Regions from separate parts of the Homo sapiens genome. Here regions 1, 2, 3, 4 and 6 are each linked to region 5. Evidence: promoter capture Hi-C in 16 types of primary human blood cells and fetal thymus (Javierre and others, 2016). All regions are on one chromosome and are shown on one strand. The core of a region is centred on a gene start or on the middle of the fragment in contact, and the rest is flanking DNA. Distances in the headings are between cores, read along the strand shown. Region 1 has its middle 9.2 kb from the start of ANKRD7. Region 2 overlaps LOC105375470 (a long non-coding RNA gene). Region 3 overlaps LSM8 (LSM8 homolog, U6 small nuclear RNA associated). Region 4 overlaps LOC105375468 (a long non-coding RNA gene). Region 5 holds the start of CTTNBP2 (cortactin binding protein 2). Region 6 overlaps LOC105375470 (a long non-coding RNA gene).

What was found. Contacts are between HindIII fragments. The CHiCAGO score rates a contact against its expected background, and 5 or more counts as called.
Region 1: a contact is called between a fragment that was not itself captured here and the fragment with the promoter of CTTNBP2 in region 5, in 1 of 17 cell types (megakaryocytes). The highest score is 5.4, in megakaryocytes.
Region 2: a fragment that was not itself captured here is called in contact with the fragment with the promoter of CTTNBP2 in region 5 in 2 of 17 cell types (megakaryocytes and erythroblasts); the score reaches 7.9 in megakaryocytes.
Region 3: a contact is called between a fragment that was not itself captured here and the fragment with the promoter of CTTNBP2 in region 5, in 1 of 17 cell types (megakaryocytes). The highest score is 7.1, in megakaryocytes.
Region 4: a fragment that was not itself captured here is called in contact with the fragment with the promoter of CTTNBP2 in region 5 in 3 of 17 cell types (megakaryocytes, erythroblasts and M2 macrophages); the score reaches 11.5 in megakaryocytes.
Region 6: a fragment that was not itself captured here is called in contact with the fragment with the promoter of CTTNBP2 in region 5 in 1 of 17 cell types (megakaryocytes); the score reaches 11.0 in megakaryocytes.

Annotation. Positions count from the first base shown.
Region 1 is chr7:118,213,852-118,217,057 of GRCh38, forward strand. No RefSeq gene overlaps it. Among named protein-coding and RNA genes, the nearest start is that of ANKRD7, 9.2 kb to the right of the region's middle. The HindIII fragment of the contact is 995 bases long and covers 957-1,951 here.
Region 2 is chr7:118,175,565-118,178,841 of GRCh38, forward strand. All of the region lies in intron 1 of LOC105375470 (a long non-coding RNA gene), which reads right to left. Among named protein-coding and RNA genes, the nearest start is that of LSM8, 7.0 kb to the right of the region's middle. The HindIII fragment of the contact is 7,095 bases long and covers 1-3,277 here.
Region 3 is chr7:118,193,121-118,196,169 of GRCh38, forward strand. LSM8 (LSM8 homolog, U6 small nuclear RNA associated) reads left to right here. Exons shown (of 4, transcript NM_016200.5): 4 at 1-3,049. Among named protein-coding and RNA genes, the nearest start is that of LSM8, 10 kb to the left of the region's middle. RefSeq lists an enhancer at 2,908-2,967. The HindIII fragment of the contact is 3,107 bases long and covers 1-3,049 here.
Region 4 is chr7:117,458,346-117,461,834 of GRCh38, forward strand. The region is part of intron 1 of LOC105375468 (a long non-coding RNA gene); the gene reads left to right. Among named protein-coding and RNA genes, the nearest start is that of CFTR, 20 kb to the right of the region's middle. RefSeq lists a cis regulatory region at 832-845. The HindIII fragment of the contact is 1,043 bases long and covers 801-1,843 here.
Region 5 is chr7:117,871,912-117,875,245 of GRCh38, forward strand. CTTNBP2 (cortactin binding protein 2) reads right to left here and starts at 1,530. Exons shown (of 23, transcript NM_033427.3): 1 at 1,424-1,530. The coding sequence starts at 1,504. The HindIII fragment of the contact is 3,697 bases long and covers 1-2,773 here.
Region 6 is chr7:118,155,867-118,159,230 of GRCh38, forward strand. The region is part of intron 2 of LOC105375470 (a long non-coding RNA gene); the gene reads right to left. Among named protein-coding and RNA genes, the nearest start is that of LSM8, 27 kb to the right of the region's middle. The HindIII fragment of the contact is 804 bases long and covers 926-1,729 here.

The DNA.
Region 1 (3,206 bases), core at 204-2,703, 340 kb after region 5:
GACAAGGATCCAGATAAAGGTGTGTTGTCCCCCGAACCCCCTGTTCCCCACCCGCCCCCAATCCCTTGTGCTGTTTTAAAAGATTTGATTCATGAAAGACTGACAGGCACACTTGGCCTGGACTCTGTGTGCAGTTACTGTTTTAGGTGCTTCGGTGTCCCTGACTGAAGGAGCCTTAGAAGGACAGAACAGGCCTCTCAGAACTTGAGGACTTGACCAGCTCCGCAGCGATGGAGTCGAGGTCGGAGTGCGCCTCTCCTAGAATCCGTCCTGGGCTCAGCTCCACGGGGCCTGTCTGCGCCGTCCTGTTACCTGTCCTTTTTGACTCCTAGGTTGAGCCCATAGATCCTCATCAAAACACTGTGCTGCACTTTCGCCACGTTTCCCACGCGGCACCCCGGTGGATTTTCCCGAGCTCTGTCATGGGGCACGGTTCCCATCCCTCGTCTCTAGCCAGCGCCCTGAGAGGCCTCTCCTCTAGCCCCAGAGGAGCCGGGGGCCACTGTCCCTTTATTCTACGGGAGAACAAACCATTTCATCTCTCTGGGGAGAGGGTTCAGGATACCGCGGACAAGTCCAGACGCACAACTCTCTTCTCTGCTTTTCGCAGGAACCCTTACACTAGCGCTGGGTCAAAGAAGCAGGTCTCGCCGTGGCCCCGCCGCAGCAAAGCCCTGCTGCTTACAAATCATGACTTCTGAGGCGGGCAAGGACGCCACGCCCAACTCCGTAAATGGCAGGTTTGCCCATGCGCGCGTCCTTTTGGTGGGCGCAGACCCAGCGCGCATGCGCAGACCAAGCACGCCGGCTCTAGCGGTGGTGGTCTTTGCTAGGTCTGGAGGTAGAGCAGATGCTGAGGCGTTCAAAGGAAGGCGGTGCCTGTGGACAAGCAGGCTTGCACAGGATCTGGCCCGTGCCGACCAGGGCGCCAGGACCCTGAAAGTCTCGTCCCAGTAAGCTTCCCCTGGCATCTTGCACTTAACAATTGTTTTTTTAAGAGTCTCCTTATCCCACTTTAATAGCAGCTACCTCAGTTCCGGAGCATATTCTCTTCCCACTTCCCTCTGGGCTCTTCCGCATATGTTTCTTGAAGGTAAAGGGGATGATTAATGATTGAGAGCCCATTCAGCAACCCATGTCCCAGCTGTGTTTTCAGAGAGTGTGGCAGCACATCTCCAAGGGAAACTTATAAGAAAGAAGAAAAGTACGCAGTCTAGATGTAAAGAAAAAAAGGTATTCAGCAGAATCACTCCTCCTGTCCTCTTCTGGCTCTGTCTCATTCCATAAAACCTTACCTTTAAATTTTAACCCTAATGTCAAATGAGTGTCATGAATTCAATCATAGAGATACACTTAAAAGATTTGAAGGAATCAAATGTGTAGCCAATGAGTGCAATTTATATCAAAGATACATGGTTCCAAGGATTCTGAAGTAGTATACACATAGGGTAAAGGAGAAAAGGTTCTCCTTTATGAGGTCGGTCCTGGGAAGTGACCAGTACATCATCTTTATATTACATCGAACGAAATGGAGCTATGGTTAATGTCTTAGTCTGTTTGTGCTGCTATGACAAAATTCCTTGAGACTGGATAATTTATAAACAATAGAAATTTATTTCTTACAGTTCTAGAGGCTGGGAATTCCAAGATCAAGGTGCCAGCAGTTTTGGTGTCTGCTGAGAGCCCAGTGTCTGCTTTCAAGATGATGTCTTAAACACTGTGTCCTCTAGAGGGGACAAATACTGTATCCTCACATGACAGACAGAAAGAAAGAGTTAAAAGGGCCAAGATAGTTATCTCCAGACCTTCTATAAGGCAGTAATCTCATCCATGAGGGCAGAGCCTTCATAGCCTAATCACCTCCAAAAGGCCCCTCTTAATACTGCTGGGTTGGGAAGTGAGTTTCAACATAAACTTTGGAGGAGATGCATTCAAACCCTAGCAGTTAAGAAGCTTGAAAATTATTATGCTTCTAAGTGGCTAAGTAGGAATTTGAATCTACTATATCATTTTCATTCTGTTACTAAGATTATCAATGGAAATAGTAAATATATTAAGGAGGCATACAATATGGAGAATTTTTCTCTTATAATGTTTGTACATGACAGAAAAAATAATTTAAAAACTTTAATAATAACTCATTAAATAGACACATTTTCTGAAGATTTAAAACTTAAAAATCAGGAGGCAAAGATATAATAATAGAATATGTGTCAGAGAGTGAATGTACAAATAGACAATGGCCAGACCATGTATGAAAGTAGAACTCTGACCCACAGCCTCTGCAGCCATCAGCCCAGAATGGTCAGTGACTGCCAGTATTTTGCCTCACTCCAACCAGAACCAACCAGAGAAAACCAAATAGATCCTCAAACCAATCACATAAGTTGCCCCATTTCTAGTCAGCCAACAACCCCCAATCAGAGCAAACCAGAAGCCTTTTCTTTTTTTCACCATTAAAGTTTTTTCATTTTCCTTTTTGCCTTTGAGTCTCTGTCAGATGCAAGTAATGATGGCTGACTCCCTTGCTATGCAAACTCTGAAAAAATAGGTTCTGGTTATTCTCATTTGGGTTATCTTTATGTGAACAGGTTCCCTAGACCAACAGCAAGATTTGGTCTATACCGCCTATTACTGCAGACCCCATCTTTCAACCAGTGGTTCCCGTGGAGACTCCTTGCACCTTGCTTTTCATGGCTTGTTGGGTCTTTGCTGATGTGACTAAGTCAGCACAAGTCTGCATTATGCTTTATGTGTGTGTGTTCAGTTCCTCTACTATTTTTTCTTCGATTTTCTTGGTTTCTTAATTTGGTATCTGGATTTTGCTACTGAGTCTCATTTGTTTGGCATCTTTGGTGAAATCAGGCCATTCTCTTTTGTCCCTTCTTGCTCTATTTTTGGGCTTTCATTTTGCATTGTGCTATCTAAAGTGTTGTTTGTCATGAGAAGGAGAATCACAAGATAAAACATATCCAGTGTTTTATAAGCCTGGTATTTAAGCTGGTCTCACAGACCAGTGAATGTACCAGGCTGGCATCCTGTTTGGACAGACTTTGTTTTTGGTCACCAAAAAAACTGGATGAGGTGTCAATTTTTTTGTCCTGAGATCTTGAATTTGAGTTCTGTTTCTGATTTTCCACCTGGCAGGGGATTGGGAGTGGGGCACATTGTAGAATCTGTGTTTGGAGCAGGTCAACCATCAGATC
Region 2 (3,277 bases), core at 574-3,073, 300 kb after region 5:
TAGACACTTTACTTTTATCCAGGAAGACAATAAATTAAGAGGTTGCATATCTGTATCACTTTGTATTCCTTCCATAACAAATCGCCACAAACTTAGTGGCTTAAAACAACAAAACTTTATTAACTTACAGTTCTGTAAGTCTGATATGGGTCTGACTGGACTTAAATCAAGGTGTTAGTAGAATGTATGCCTCCAGAAGGAGGCTGTAGGGAAGAATCCATTTCCTGCTCACTTAGATTTTGGCAGAATTCAGTTTCTTGCTGTTGTAGGACCAAGGTCCCTGTTTTCTTGCTGGCTATAAACTAAGAGCTGTTCTCAGCTTCTAAAGATAACCACATTTCTTGGCTCATGGCCCTCTTCCTCCAACTTCAAAGCCCATCAACAGCAGGACAAGTCTTTTCATGTCACATCTCTCAGACCCACTCTTCTGATTCCCTCTTCCGCATTTAAGGACTCATGATTAGAGGGGGCCAGCTGAGTAATCCAGAATAACCTCACCATCTCGAGGTCCTTACCTTCAATCACATTTGAAAAGTGCTGTTTGACATGTAAAGTAACAATCACAGTTCCCAGGGATTAGGATGTGGACATCTTTGGGGGTTGGGGGGGTAGGAGAGATTATTCTACCTTCCACAATATCTTAGTTGCCTTTCCTATTCTTCCCATTGGTAGTGACATCTGAAAAATGTCAACCTGCCTTTGAGTATTTGGACTCAAAGGTATACATATTCCTTCTGATTTCCGAAAAAGTCTACATACAATAGCAATGACGTATCCATGGATATGCGCTGATCATATGTACATATAAACTCAAAATTTTGTCCTTCAAGTAGAACAGTTACTTTTATTATTAACTATTGTAAGAAGCACTGAACTAGAATCCAGGAGGCCTTGATTGTAGGTTCTACTATGTAACCCTAAAAGAGTCAATGAACTTATTTGGGATTCAGTTTCCTAATCCACATGACACAGAATGTAAATTTGAAAATTCTTAGGTTCCCTTTTAGCTCTAAATATCTGTGATCCATAGTCTGAAAGAAAAAGGGTGGAAGTGGGAGAGTCATTCTGATTTGTTACAAAAATGAAACAAAACTTATATAATGAGAATTTATCAAAAATAAGGGAAAGCCTTGATTTTTTTCTGCCCCATATGTTTTTAATTTAAAATTTTTTTTTAATATTTAGGGGGTACAAGTGCAGCTTTCTTACATGCATATATGAAATCTGGGCTTTTAGTGCACCCATCACCTGAGTAGTGAGCATTGTACCCAATAAGTAATTTTCAACCCTTATTTGCTCCCCATGTGTTTTAATGTAATTTCAGGCATTTGCTTTCTATTGGTCACTCAAGGTTATTTATGTTTAGCTTTTGTCAATGTAATTCTTATACTTCACTCTCACTATTCCATTTACATTTCTATATACCTTCTTACATTATTCATCTCTCATTGCCTAACCTCAGTATTTTTCTCCAAAAAAAAAAAATCAATAAATTAGCATTGCTCTACCTTGCCATACAATGTCTGCAACAAGTCCAAATCAATCTGTTCCTTCTGTGTGGATTATAACATTAAGGAATGAATTCAGACTGAAGATCCTAGTGACCTAAGTAATTTCTGATATCAATATTATTTTCCAATTTTGGCATGCAAAAAATTCAATGGAAATGACAGTATAATTTTACCTGTATTGCAATCCAAGCTGCTAAAGACAATTTTTAAAAGCCAAGCAAAACAATAAAAAAGAAAGCAAATGTACTCAGCTTAAAATAAAGTTCCCTAATCTGGTTCACTATAGTGATAACACATACATGGTAATTTATTTTTTAAAAAAAGATATTGAAAAATGATCAGGTATGGGTGCTCCATTTGGATTAGTCATATGCTGTATGTGCTATTTAAATAAAGCTGCCCAAGTTATACGAATTCAAGTACCCTTCTAGGGCAAAGTCAGAGGTGGAAGAACTGCCTACCTAAAGAATTACTTGGTGCTAAAGGACAGTATGAACCACAGAAGGAGATAAGTAAAACAGGGGCAGGATGACATTATTTAAACTCCAGATTCTCAGTGGAATACTAACATAGTCTGTTATGTTACAGTATTGTCTTTTTTATTTTTTATTTTTGAGACAGGGTCTAGCTCTATCACCCAGGCTGGAGTGCAGTGAGAAGATCTTGGCTTACTGCAATCTTTGCCTCCTGGTCTCAAGGAATCCTCCCACTTCAGCCTCCTGAGTAGCTGGGACTACAGGTGCGCATCATCACGCCTGGCTAATTTTTTGTAGTGACAGGATTTCACCACATTGCCCAGGCTGGTCTGGAACTCCTGAGCTCAAGTAATCTGCCTGCCTTGGCCTTCCAAAGTGCTGGGGTTAAAGGCATGAGCCACTACACCCAGCCGAGTACTGTTTTTTATAGTACACATGAGGTCACATGAGATTGTTAAACAGGAGAGTAATGTTAGAATAATAGGGAAAGTGGGTTGGTTCATACATAATTTTTCATAGCACTTTAATGCTTTGTAGTACAAAGACACAATAGCTGAAGTACAATTATTGCACTTAGTTTTGTGATTGAACCAGGCCTGGGGGAGTATAGCACTCAAATGATGACCTTTCACGGTGTGGGACCCCATTCTTCCCTGGGCTTGGTTCAGCCATATGCTCCATTTTGATAGTGCTTATTTTGCAGCTCCCTCACATCTTTGGGCAAAAGCGACATCAGACAACGAGTCAGAGCCATCCATCTCTGGCAACTCCACATTTCCTGCAAAGTTTGCAACTGCTTCTCCATCTGCTACTTCTGATGATCTCCCGCCCTTGTTTCCATCACTCATCAGTGTCTACCCTTCTGTAAACTGTCATTCTTTAAGCAACCTTCAACTTTTTTAAAAAGGTAAAACTCTTTAAGTTAATATAACATTGCTTTATTTGTTAGGAGTTTTACACGTCCTTCTAAATGAACTACTATTTTCATTTCGGTTGTTATTGTCTGTTAATACTACAGTTCAGTGGTTGCCAGACTTTGTTGTTTATTAGTTAACTACGGATGTTTTAGAATACTGAGGCCCAGCTGAACCTCATTCTATTTAACTCAGAATGTCTTGAGTGTGGGAGCCAGCTATCAGTTTTTAAAGATCATATCAGTAAGTAGCAAAGTTTGGGAACCACCGCTCAGTTGTTCAGAGTTTGAGAGGGCTTTCCCAGACTTATTTTTTCCTTAGGCTCTTATTTTAAGTGAGCCATTTTCTTAAAATGTGAAGATTTTCAGGAATGTAT
Region 3 (3,049 bases), core at 296-2,795, 320 kb after region 5:
CTATGAAGATCCAGATAGTCTTTTAGGCTTTGAAGGCCATGTGGTCTGTCACAGCTACTCACCTCTGCTATTGTGGCCTACAAATAACCATAGATAATACATAAATGAATAGTGGCTGTCTTCCAGTAAAACTTCATTTATAAAAATGGAGGTGGGGGTTGGATTGGGCTTGAAGGCATAGTTGCTGACCCTTGGCTTAATACAAGTTCAATAAGAAAAAATGAACAATTTGTATAAATTCTGGAATAGATCCTTATAGAGAGTTTAGAGGTGGGTTTCATTCATATTTTAAAATATTTTAAACTTCATACTTATTAAACATAATAGCTTTTTGGGGGAGGAAAATATCTTCACTCAAATCAGCCTTATAAGGGGAGAAGCACTATTCTCTAGAATTATTTGGTTGATGTTAAGGGCTGTCTCTGGGAGAATTAGAGAAGTTAGCTAGTATTGGCTATTCATAAGTACTTGACTTGTAGTATAATGTTTTATAATCAATTTATTAATAAAATGATGGAAAGTGGGTAAGGCAAACAGGCAAATTTAGGGACTGTGAATGAAATATTGTAGTATATGGCATTTTGAATTGGTAAAGTAATTCCAAAAATTAAATAAGAATACACATTGTTCAGTTGCTAAGAAAAATGCATTCTAACAGTACAAATGAAGTCCAGAGTCAGATCTTTTCTCAAAATACTTGGCATATCAACACATTACACATAAACAAATAAAAACCAGTCCTGTCCCTCATGATAATGGGTTTCTAATGTGATGTATTCTTGCAATCTGAAACACCTTATAAAGCTGTATTTTCCTGATTGATGTTGGAAAAAGCATTCCCAAAATGTGAATTATTGTTTTTATGAATAGTTACAGAGGATGTGATGACAATATGCCAGATAATCTATGTAATTCTTTATTCCTGGATACAAGCACATGGTGGACTGTTTTCTCACAACCGATTAAAATTGGATTTATTTTTGCATGAGAATTGTAAGGGAGCCACAACCATGAGTAGTAACATAATTAATATACAGTGTCAATATTTTATATTTAATGAGACATTTATTCTATAATCAGTTCTTATTTATAAAGAGGCGCAAATCAATTTCAACCTGTAATTACCTCTGTGCTTTGTGACTCAGGCACAATCTAAACCCAGCTTAATGAATCAAAGAGATGTTTCTTGGCAAGATATTTTCATTAAAGTTATTTGGAAAGGGCAATTAACTGCAAAAGGGACTTTTTTTTTTTTAACTGACAAGATACTATCTAAACTAATAGTTTAAAATAACATTGCTTTTATGTCAAAGCACTTTGGTAACTTGGCCTCACATGCTGACAGTTTTGGCTAAATATTACAAATCTTGATCCCAGAAGAGCAAGAGAGAAAGTTTTACTAATATTTGCTTAAACATCCTGTTTAACAACTTTATAACATCCTTCGGAATTTTTAAGGTAATAATGTGAGATATAAGTATGATAAAAACAACTTTTAAATGGTATTTAATGCAAATACAGAATAACGATGTCAACATTTTCCTCAGCCGTGTAACCTGAGATTCATCATGGGAATGAGAAAGTAAAGGCCCTTTGTAATGGCATGTGAACCAGACAATTTAGTAGCCAGGGTTGTAAGGCAACTCTTAACTGACAATATAGTTAGTATATTCTGGGCCTTCATCTTCAAAATTAGTAGGTAGTATTTATTGAGTGCATATCATGTGCCAGGCCTGGTGCTGAGTGCTTACAATGATCATTTTATATATGGGAAAATTGAGGCTCAGCAGGGTCAAGTGACTTGTAAGAGGTAGCACTAGTAAGTAACAGTGCTCAAATTCAACTAGGTCTTTCAGCTTTTTATACAATACTGCCTGTTATCAGAAAGTATAGTCTTAAAATCTGCTATCAAGCATCTATCAGAAGCCTGATGAGAAATATTCAGATGATCTAACGCAGTTCCCAAACCTGCATTGTGGGCCGTTTTCATTACAATTACCTAAGGTGCTTTAAAAATTTTCTTGGGCCCTACTCGTTGTGGTTCAGCAGCTGTGTAATGGAGCAAAAAGGAATAGTCACTAAACAGCGAAGGAAAGTGGTGGAATTATTAAAAGACCTAGCACTTACCTGCTGGGATGAGTCTCTAACCCCACAGAATTGATTTCAAACACAGGATCTTATTCAAGATAAGGATAATAACAGCTATCTTCTTGGGTTGTAAAAAGTAGCATTAGACTGCATTTTAAACATTTGGTATGATTTTGAGGACATAACCGTAAACAGCTATTTAATACTATTCCAGGTAGTCAAAGGCCAATGTATAAAAGTTAAAAATATAGGTCTTGTCAGCTTTTTAAGCGTCTGTCCCACTGACTACCATATCTCTACAAGAGAATAGATGAGGAATTGAGGTTATGTGGGAAGTACGTGTAAGTTTACAGTATTAAGAAATGTACAATAAAATTTGTTTCTATGTCAGCGAATATTCTTGACTCAAGGAGTTTGAAAGTGTAAACTCAAAGGTCTTTCACATGTAAAGAGGAACCTCTCCATTCTGTACTTGTATAGTCATTACCTCATATAGATTTAATTTTATTAAATTAAATTTTACTTATTTTGGGTTTAAAAAAACTTGGGCTGTGAATCTCAGTTTTAAGTCATGGGCAAATTTGATAAAAATTCCTTTCTGTCTACATGTAATACTGAAAAAAATGTTGATAAGGTAAAGCTATCTCCATTTAGATTGATACCCATTAAATAGCATAGTGCTCCCATTAAACTAGCGACAAATTCATTTAATTGTGAGATATCTAGTACTTATGCTCCATCCTGTTTATAGGGATTATTGATGTGAGATTTGGTCAGATGCTTTGATGTGATCTTCATTCCTCTGTATAGTGGGAAACCATGAGACGTGCTTAGTCTTCATAAATCGATGCTGCCTCCTAGTGGCCATTGCTTTCTTTTCTACCTGTCCACAAACTTCAAAAAAATAGATTTTGGAATTTTGTCAGGGACACTTATCAAGCCATTAATACATGCCAGGCAG
Region 4 (3,489 bases), core at 72-2,571, 410 kb before region 5:
TATTCAACATTGGTGAAAATGTTGGTCAGGGAGGACTAAAGATGAAGCCCTGTAGACCATCCTTATTAACTTCTATCTTGGCTCACAGTGATCCATTAGACCCTTTTGGACATGGTCATTCAGTCAATTATGACTAGTGCTAATGGAACTCACATCTAGTCCATGCTTATTTGGTCAATAAGAATGTAAAGATAGAAATGACATAAAATGGCTGGGCGCAGTGCCTCACGCCTGTAATCCCAGCACTTTGGGAGGCCAAGGTGGGTGGACCACCTGAGGTCAGGAGTTTGAGACCAGCCTGGCCAACGTGGTGAAACCCCATCTCTACTAAGAATACAAAAATTAGCCAGCCATCGTGGTGGGCACCCGTAATCCCAGCTCCTCGGGAGGCTGAGACAGGAGAATCGCTTGAACGCAGGAGGCGGAGGTCGCACTGAGCCGAGATCGCGCCACTGCACTTCAGCCTGGGCAACAAAGAGTGAGACTCAGTTTCAAAAAAGAAAAAAAGAAAGAAATGACATAAAATATCTTTCATAATATTTTTAGATGTCTGTTAGATGTTTGTACTCTTATTTTAGCATGGTCATTTACCTAAACTTTGTTAAAATAGTGAAATATTTCCAAAGCCTCCTAATTTTTTTTACGCCAATCCTAACTCACAGGCAACATTTAATGTATGAATATTGCTTCCAAGAAGAGTGGTGGGATAATATGATGGCAAATTAATCTGGTATAATGAAAAATGTTATAACACTAAATTTTTTTTGTATAAAAGTGTGCTTTTCCGGGATGTTGTTTGAAGCTTCTTTACTTTTCACTTTTCTCTTTTCACCAGCAGAGGGCAGGTAAGGAAGAGAGAAGAAAATACTATAAAAGTATCTCGTCCTCTATTCAACTATTTAAAACACTTCTCTGATACATTTACAAAGTGAGCTATTTTGTTTTCTCTTTAGTTATGCTATTTTGAAAATAATTGATCTAAGTATAAATTTTAATTTCTTACATATATTTGGTTTAATGAATCTCCAATGAAATTTGTACTTTGAATTTTTAATTGTTTATAAACCAATTATAAATTCAGACTTGAAAAGTCTGAATATTCTTTATATTTTGAAGTGATAAAAATGTCCCCTTTTATTTTGGGTAATTCAATTAATTAGACTTTTTCCTTTTATGGTTTTCTAATTCAATTATGGGTAAGTTTATGTGAATGTTTTCCATAGACATCTTAATATAGCCATTTGGTCATTTCCTTCAACATGCAGAGTTGTTAAGCATGGTTTTCAGTTTTATTAATCAAGTAATGTATCTTATAAACATAACTGAAGGAAACTCAAATGGGATGTGATGGAGTTTTTTTTTTTTTTTTTTTTTTTCAATAATATACCTTACAGGAATGTTTAAATATAGTTTTAGTAAGTATATTAGGATATTTTCTCTTGAAACTTTAAATTTAATTAATAATAAAACATCTTTTTCAAAACATTAGATGATGTGATAAACTATGTAATTCAACAGTTCAGAACAGCTTGCATGTAACCTTTGTTAAATCAAAAGTCAGGTGGCAACCTGGATTTTTGCCTGTTCAGCTTGAATAATGGCATTGTTCTGGAAGTACAGTAGTGGAGAGAGATTGAGTAATTCCTGGGAAGATAAATCCCCATATTGCTTATTCCAAGTACTAGAAATTACTTCTTTCCTTTGCTTATTGATTACCTCATCTTTAAGAATCTTTTTTTAACTGTCAAGCAAGGTTATGTATTAGGACTCCCCTTGGTCATACTAAGGAATATTTCCAAATACTGGACAAAAATGAACTTCCTCAGGTCACCTAATGAATACAAGCTTATAGTTATTATAGCTTAGAACATAGGTGTAGGGAAGAAAACAAAGAAAGGATCCCCGGGACTAAGCAAAAAGGAAATTCTTCCAATTAGGCAGAGTGATGAAGCTTCAGGCCTAGGGTTGCTGTGACAGCCTCTTTACTGATTGCCCATACGATGTCTTCCTTTTCCACTAGGCCACCATGTGTATTTATTCTACTTTTTTCTTTCTAAAATGCAACACGTTGATGTTATTTCCTTACTCAAAACCCCATACTAACTCCCTTTTGCCAATGATAGTAGGTGTGGGACTTCTTTTCTGCCATTTCAGACTCTGAACAAGGTCTCAATCTGATTTTCCACATTTACTCCTTCCTCTGCTTTTCACAAACCATGCAAACAGTGCGATTTCAAAAGTATGTCCCTTTCTACTCATATCTTTCTCAGTCATCTCTGCCTGTCAGAGGCCCTTTGTCTTTCTTTTTATTTAGTTTAATTTAATTTATTTATTATTATTATTATTATACTTTAAGTTGTAGGGTACATGTGCACAACGTGCAGGTTTGTTACATATGTATACATGTGCCATGTTGGTGTGCCCATTAACTCGTCATTTACATTAGGTATATCTCCTAATGCTATCCCTCCCCACTCCCCCAACCCCACGACAGGCCATGGTGTGTGATGTTCCCCATCCTGTGTCCAAGTGTTCTCATTGTTCAATTCCCACCTATGAATGAGAACATGCGGTGTTTGGTTTTCTGTCCTTGCGACAGTTTGCTCAGAATGATGGTTTCCAGCTTCATCCATGTCCCTACAAAGGACATGAACTCATCCTTTTTTATGGCTGCATAGTATTCCATGGTGTATATGTGCAGTGGCCCCTTGTCTTTCAAGATCCATTGTCAATGACATTTTCTCCTGAAGACATATCTTATTCTTAACTGGATGATCTTTGGTGCCCTTAAGTCTCATGGCTATTTGCATCTCTAGAGTGGCCCTCATCATATTCTATTATCTATTATTCGTATTTGTATATTTGTTTCTCTTTATATGCCAACTATAAGCTCCTTGATAGTAGGGACTGTGTCTTGGTGTCCCCAGAGATTAGCATGATGTCCTGCAACTGGCAGAGTCATTCAGAGACACCAGGGCTCTTTGTATTTTTTCAGGCCCTCAGTATATTAAAAACTGAAAAATGCCAGGGTTACAAAATTGTGGCATATTTTAAATGTTACGTCAAAAAATGGATGTGATGAAAACACATACATGCCCACAATAATCCCCAATGTAATTGTGTGCTGCTTAAGATAATTATAGGATTTCTAAAATATTTAACTCATGCTATTTTTAAGTTGGCATAGTCTGATAACTGTACGCAAGTATAGTGTTGTGTGTTTTGCGTGTTTTCTTCTTTCTGTCTTGTCAGTTTACCTCTAGGACTGTTAATCTGAGGCCTTGGCCAACGGACCCTCTGGACTCTCTATGAGGGGCCCTCACATGTAGATCTCTGATAAATGTTCACTGAAATGAGTTCAGTTTAATTACACACCAAAACGATGCTATATATAAATATTATACAATGAATTTCTATTTTTATGTAATCATATTATTCAGAAATAAGGTTGAAAGTTATTAAAGTCTAATTTAATATCTAAATTTAACT
Region 5 (3,334 bases), core at 280-2,779:
TTTGGGGATGAAGGCACCAAATCATTTCCACTTGCCAGAGAGCCTTGTCTCAATAGCTAGTTTCCTTACTGTGCCCCACAGAGGGGAGCTGATTCACATAAGTGGGCAGGTTTCGTTTGAAATCTTAAAGTTCTCATTTTCTATGCAAAGAATGGAAACTCAATTTTCCCAAAAGTTCAAATCAAAACTTGCCAGTTTTACAAGTGGAAATTAGCAGTCCTCCTCCCCGTTTCTCCTTCCATTGCCAGGCTCAGCTCCTCTCACCCCAAGTACCTTCCTCCACATCTCTCCTCTCCCTCTCCAGAAAGCCCTACCTCCAGAGGGTGGGAGGAAGTTAAAGCGGCCCCCGCTGTTTACGCCCGGCCCTGCCCTCTCCTGCACTGATTCTGCTCAGGTCTTGATAGGAAGAGGGGGGCGTCCACGCCCCGCTCGCTCCATCCCACCCCATCCTTCGGCGGGAGCAGCCAGATCTGGCCAAGAGTGGGAGGCGCTCCCAGATCTGCCTTTCTCTGCAGCTCCTTGCAGCTCCTGCGAAGCTGCTTCCCAAACACCGAGAACCTTTTCCACCCAGGAAATGTGGGTCCAGCCCTTCCCCAAAGTAGAGGCTGGAAACCACCAGCGAGTCTCTACACCGGAATATTAAGGGGGTGAAAGTAAGGACCAGTCAAGAATGGTAGCGCATTCGGCCTCTAGACTCCAGAGAAGGAGAACAATGTCTTGAAACCAGGTGCAGAACCTCCACCTCTCCTGAGCATCGTCTCGGGAAGAACCAATCCATCCACCCCACCCCAATCACTACCACCAAGTAATGGGGCAGCAGGCTGCTAGGACCTAAAGCGCTGGCCTCAGCGGCAGCAGCGCCCACATCTGGACACGGCCCTCTCCCAGTGGGCCTCCCGAAGGCACAGGACCAGATGCACACAATGGGCATCCCCACACCTGCTGGGCGATGGCCCACCTCCCCCAAGCTGCTCTCCCGGGTCCGCTGAGCGGTACCAGGCACCCCCGAGACACGCGCTGGCAACCACGCGCGCAGCGAGAGGTGAACAATGGGGGGTCAAATTCGCCAGGAAACACGTCCCAGCCTTCTCCCCCGGCCAGAAGCGACCGCAGCGGAGGGAGTGGGCATAGGGGTCGCACTGGACGCAGACAGGGAGCTGGGAGAACCGGGCGACCCGGGGCCGCTTCCCGTGGGGCGCGGAAGGGACAGGAGGGATCCCCAGCCAGGGTGGCCGCTCCGCTCCCCCCCGCGGCCTCCGCCGTGTGGGCATCCCGAGGAAGGGGGGCCCCGATGAAGGGGCACCGGAGAGTCCCGGGCTTACGGAACGCCCCGGGGGTGCGAAGTCGGGTCCGGCTGGGACCCCGGCGCCGCCCCCGGCCCGCGTCTACACTAGCCCCGCGCCCGCCCCGGGAACTCGGTTACCGCCGCCTCCGCCGCGGCCCCCGCCGCGTCCTCCGGGGCCCGGGACAAGTCGGGCTCGCAGCTCGCGCCGTCCGTCGCCATCTTCCTGCTCTAGCGGATCCGAATGCGAGCTCGGAGCCGCGGCTCCGGACTCAGCCGTCTCCGCGCGGGCGGCACTTAACCCGCTGCTGTCCGGGACGCGGGCGCCTGGAGCCGGGAGCCGGGAGCCGCGGCACTCCCTCCGCCCCTCGCCACCGCCCTCGCCGCTTAACCCGCTGCGCGCCGGAGCGCCCCGCCTCGGTCCCGCCCCGCGCCCCGCGTCCCGCGCCCGGTGGCGCCAGCCGCGGGCTCGTGGAGGTGCGAGAAATGGGCGCACGACCTGGCTCCGCTGCGGCCCTGCGCGGGGACTGGGGATCAAAGACCACGGAAGAGGTGAAGGCAGAAAGCGCCCGAGGAGCGTTGCATTCCGCAGAACCCCAACCAAGCCGGAGAAATCCGTGCACAGACCAGATTAAATGTCAGGCCTCCTGAATCTGAATTCTCTGAAAGATCAGGGAAAATCCTACACTTCAGCTCCCTCTATCCCACCGCGAGGAATCACACAGGGCACCCCTTTCTTCTTAAATTGCTCTTTCTTAAATTTCATTGCCGCCAGGGTGTTTTTATCCTCCCTATATATATACACACCTGGCTCTGATTTATTCTATCGTTGACTCTAGTGTTTCTCCAAAAACAATTCTCAGATGAAAACGATTTGTCTGTCCTGTTTTCTTTTAGAACGTGGCACCAGCCCCTCAGCTCCTAACTTTCTATACAATCTCCTTTTCAGGGAATGTGTAGCGGGCTGTTTTATATTCTGTGACCCCCCTAAGTCTGAGATCTCTCCTGAAGGACTAACTGAGAAGTGTTAAATGTCATAGCTTTAAAAGCTAAATGTCATGTCCTCTACTTTTGAGAGAATTTAAAAAAATTACTCCCTACGTGTGAGGACACGTGTACATATACACCAAAAACAATCAAACAAAAGCCGTATTTGTAAAAATAGATTTTATGGGAATTACACGTCTCAGAAGATTTTTCATGAGATGAGTGAATTAGGCCCAAACGCTTAATCTTCCCTTTCCACATCTAATTCAGTTCCTACCCTTTGCTGCCAATTTCCAGAATGTGAAAATCTATCACCTCACCAAGACCATATGGTACAGCCCTTCCCAAATCACCAGATCCCTAAAAATGTGTCGAATGCATAAAATCAAATTGAGACATTCAAGCTGTGTCTCAAAGACGTAAAATCAAACCACAACCAAATCTTGCACTTGAAATTTTGGAAGATGAATGACTAGAATGTTCAGTCCAAGGGTTACAGATCAAAGCTTTTTTTTTTTTTTTCCTTTTTTCTTTCTTTCTTTCTTTCTTCTTTTTTTAATGGCAGGCTCCTAATGAAAGGTTTTGACTCTTTAATTGCTCCACTTTCCAAATTAGACCCAAATATGACACAAACCAGGGCAGAGAAAATCTTTTCTGCAAAGACCCTGAAAGGGATTGATTAATAAACTGTGAAAAGTTCCCTCCCAGAAGAGAGGTCAAGAAAGAACTTTACCTAGAACTCTGGGGCTAAAAGTCAGAGGCTTAGAAATCATCTCCAGGTTATCCTGTGAGTACAGGTACTTATTTATTTATTTATTTATTTATTTATATTGGCTCTGATAGTTACTCCCTCACTTATCCCTTTAATATCCATCCCTGTTCATTATACCACTTTCCTTTATTAAGTATACTCTCTAAAACTGCTCAATATTAGAATAACTAGATTTCTTTAAGATTAAAGAAAACCACTGGACAGTAAAAGTTAGATGTCAAACTGATAGTAAAAATTTAAAGTCCAAGGGCATTCCTTGTTCTTTTCAAAATGCACTTCCACACATTGCAAGG
Region 6 (3,364 bases), core at 78-2,577, 280 kb after region 5:
TCTGCTTCAGACCTCTCTTTTTGCTATGTACGGAGATATTTAACTTTTTGTCTGTAGCTATATATGTAGAAACAAAAGGAAGGGCAGTTTCTTACATGACTCAGTGTTCAGCTTAATTTTTTTCTTTTGGCATAGTGAGTTGGAGTCCCGAGTATTTATTTTCCTTTCACGTTTCTCCCCCTCCTTTTTTTCTTTTTTTTTTTTAAAGTCTTTTGGAGAAAGCATTTTAGAATAAAATTAGTCTCTTGTCTCAAGTTCTGTCTGATCTCTTGTGGCTAGGGAAATTTATTCCTAGATAAATAGGTCTCATGTTATGAAAGCTCATTTTTACCATGTTGTAGTCTCACTACCACAAGAAAAAATAGGGGGAGGAAGAGAGAAACAAAACAAAGGAAAAAAAGGAGAAAATAACAAAAAAACAACAAAGGGAAAACAATCCTGGAAAAGTAATAAATAACATATTACTCTGAAGTCTATACATAAGATTGCAGGTATGAAAATGGTTTATAAATAGGTTGCTGTTATTTTCTTCCAAAATTTAACTTGCCTAGCTTCCATATTTCTAATCAGAAAAAAAGGGGCGGGGGGAGGAAAAGAAGGAAGAAAAAAATTGAAAACATGATTTTGGAGACTTTTGATCAGGAAAGATTTTAGAATTCAGTCCAAATTGTAGAAAAATAATAAAAATTAAGTAACACTAGACAAGGCTAAAATCTAATAACAAGTGTACTATAGTTTATTCTGAAACATGATTTTTTTCTCTCTAATTCCCTAATTTTGTTAAACACAAAATCATAATAGGACAAACTTATCTGTAAAATAAGTTTTAGTCGTATTATACTTGGCTTGATTATTTGCATAAGGTGCAGCAAGAATAATCATTTACTATACTGGCTCCCTCTTTTTTGAAATTGGCTTTGCTGGAAGCTTTTCCATAAGGAATCTAAGATTAGACCTTTTTAAAAGCCTCACGCCCAGCCAACAATTTATCTGTGCCTGCAGATACCTGTTTGAATTGGGTGAATTCCTCTCTTTTTGAGGTCCCAAGAAAACTTGGGGTTCCTGGGCCTATCATAAAGAGACATTCTTTACTTAAGACAAGTCAGGACCTTGTAAAGGACAATGTATGAGGTCAGTTTTTCCAAAGGGCTTTTATCAACTCTATAGGTCAGCCTGCTCTAGATTGGATCAACAATCCTCATTAATACATCAGCTCTCCATGAGAGTCCTGGAAGTTTTCTCTCTATTCCAATGGCACAATTTCTAAAGTTACCAGAAACTTATATTTAAGAGTACTTCTCAGAGTATTATTGCTGATTATAAATCACCCCATAGAAGGATCAAAGTAAAACAACAATTGTGGATGACAAAGGTCTTAGCACAGTCATGGTTAAAGACAGAATTGACAAGGAAATTGGGTTACTTTTGTGGCATACAACAATTTTACATAATAATCATAATCGCTACTGATAACATATATTAAGACATAACAGAATCACAGGAATCTCATACAATTTTGGAACACATACTAATAACCCATTTATATAAACATAATCCAAATAAGGTTAAACACCATTTTGAATTTGACAATGCTTTCTGTATGATGTTTATTATACCAAATAAGCTGAACATGTCTCTTTTGGGCTTCAGAAGACCTAATATCAAAAATTAATGAAGTCAACAGAACTGAATTTAAAATTTGATATTAGAAAGTTTGTCAAATATAAAAAGCTTAAAACACTTCATATCACATAGTAGAATCACAGGTTATTGTAAAATAAGTCATTCATTTAGCCAAAATTATAACTCAAAGATTTCCAAGAAAAGGCAAAAATCTTTATTGAGAGAGGAGGCCTTAATTTCCCAAACAACAAGCCCTTGAAAAGACAGCATGAGGCCAACTAAATCTGTCTCTCAAATCTTACAAACAAATGTATTAAATTTTAAATATCTTGACTAAAAGATATAATTTTCATATACCTTTTTATAACCTCCTATAATTTTTTATTAAATAGTTGGTTAGTGCTTCAAGAAAACCTTGTTAATCTGACACAGGGGCCTAGATGCTGGTTTGCATTAGTGTGCTTTTGATATTAATGTTTAATTTACAGAGAAACTCTGAACAAATTTTGTCTCTCAAAATTGGCCCTTACAACCTCAAATGTCCACCTGTTCTGCAATAGTCCCTGGGTCCAGAGGTATTGAATAGTTTTAATTTCTGGCTCTGTGTCTCATGAACATGGTGTATTTTGATTGTCATTTTCTCCCAGGTCTGAAAATGAGGCTTTAATTGTTGTCAGTGTTGAGATTTAGCAGGACTTAGTGTCCTTTTTAGACCCATGCATCAAAGCCCTGTAACTTGACAGCACAAGGACTTTTAAAGCAATACAGAAAGTTACATGGATGAGATAACCTTAATTTTTAAAATGTTTAAATCTCAGTTTTCCTAAGCAAATCAAAATTTAGTAACAATGACCTAGGAATTATTTTGATAAAATGTAAAATCCATTAGGCCATTTACCAAAAGGCAAAAAACAAAACAAAACAATAAAAACCAATCTTCTGCAGTGGGACTACTTTTCCCTATAAGGAGTCCACTTAGATAACCTGCAAGTCAAAACTAATGAAAATGGTACTTGAATTAGATATAGGAAGAGTATGAAGCCAAGAGCACAGAATGTTATACTGGAAGAAAATATGTCCTTTAGGCCTTTAAGGTAAAACATTTTTAGCTTTAGGCCACAAGAGTAGTTAGAAGCTGAGTGAAAAAATTACAGGAGCTGACAAAAAAGTTGAAGGAGAATGGTATTATCTCAGTCCTTCTTGAAGGAGAGAGAGAGCTGAAAACAGTGAGACATGATAAAAGTTGAACTTTTGGGTTAAAAAATTAAAATCTTGTAATTTTATTAAGCATAAATAAATACCTTAAGAAAATCTTGTTGTTCTAACCAATTCTTTAGCATATTAGTTTATTTTTAATATCAAAGCCCAATCTCTAAAAGACTATTATAAATAATTTCCTTTTAATTATAGCCAACTTAATCACAGTTTTTTTCCATAAATTCTCCTTTTACAAACCTTATTGCAACTTATACAAACCATTTCCAACATGCTTGGACTTGCTGTTTTGTCCTAAACATCCCTCATTCCTAAATAACCAGTGAGTTTACTTTAGGACAAAAATTTACCATATAAGATTCTTTCTCATATAAAATTATTCCTTTTAACCTGTCTTATCAAAAATATCTCTTTATATCTATTACTTTCTTTACTAGTTCTTTTTACTTTGTTTCAAAAATAACCTTTAAATAACTTTTGAATTAGACAAAAATTATTTTCCTTCAAATAAGATTTTTAGAAAATT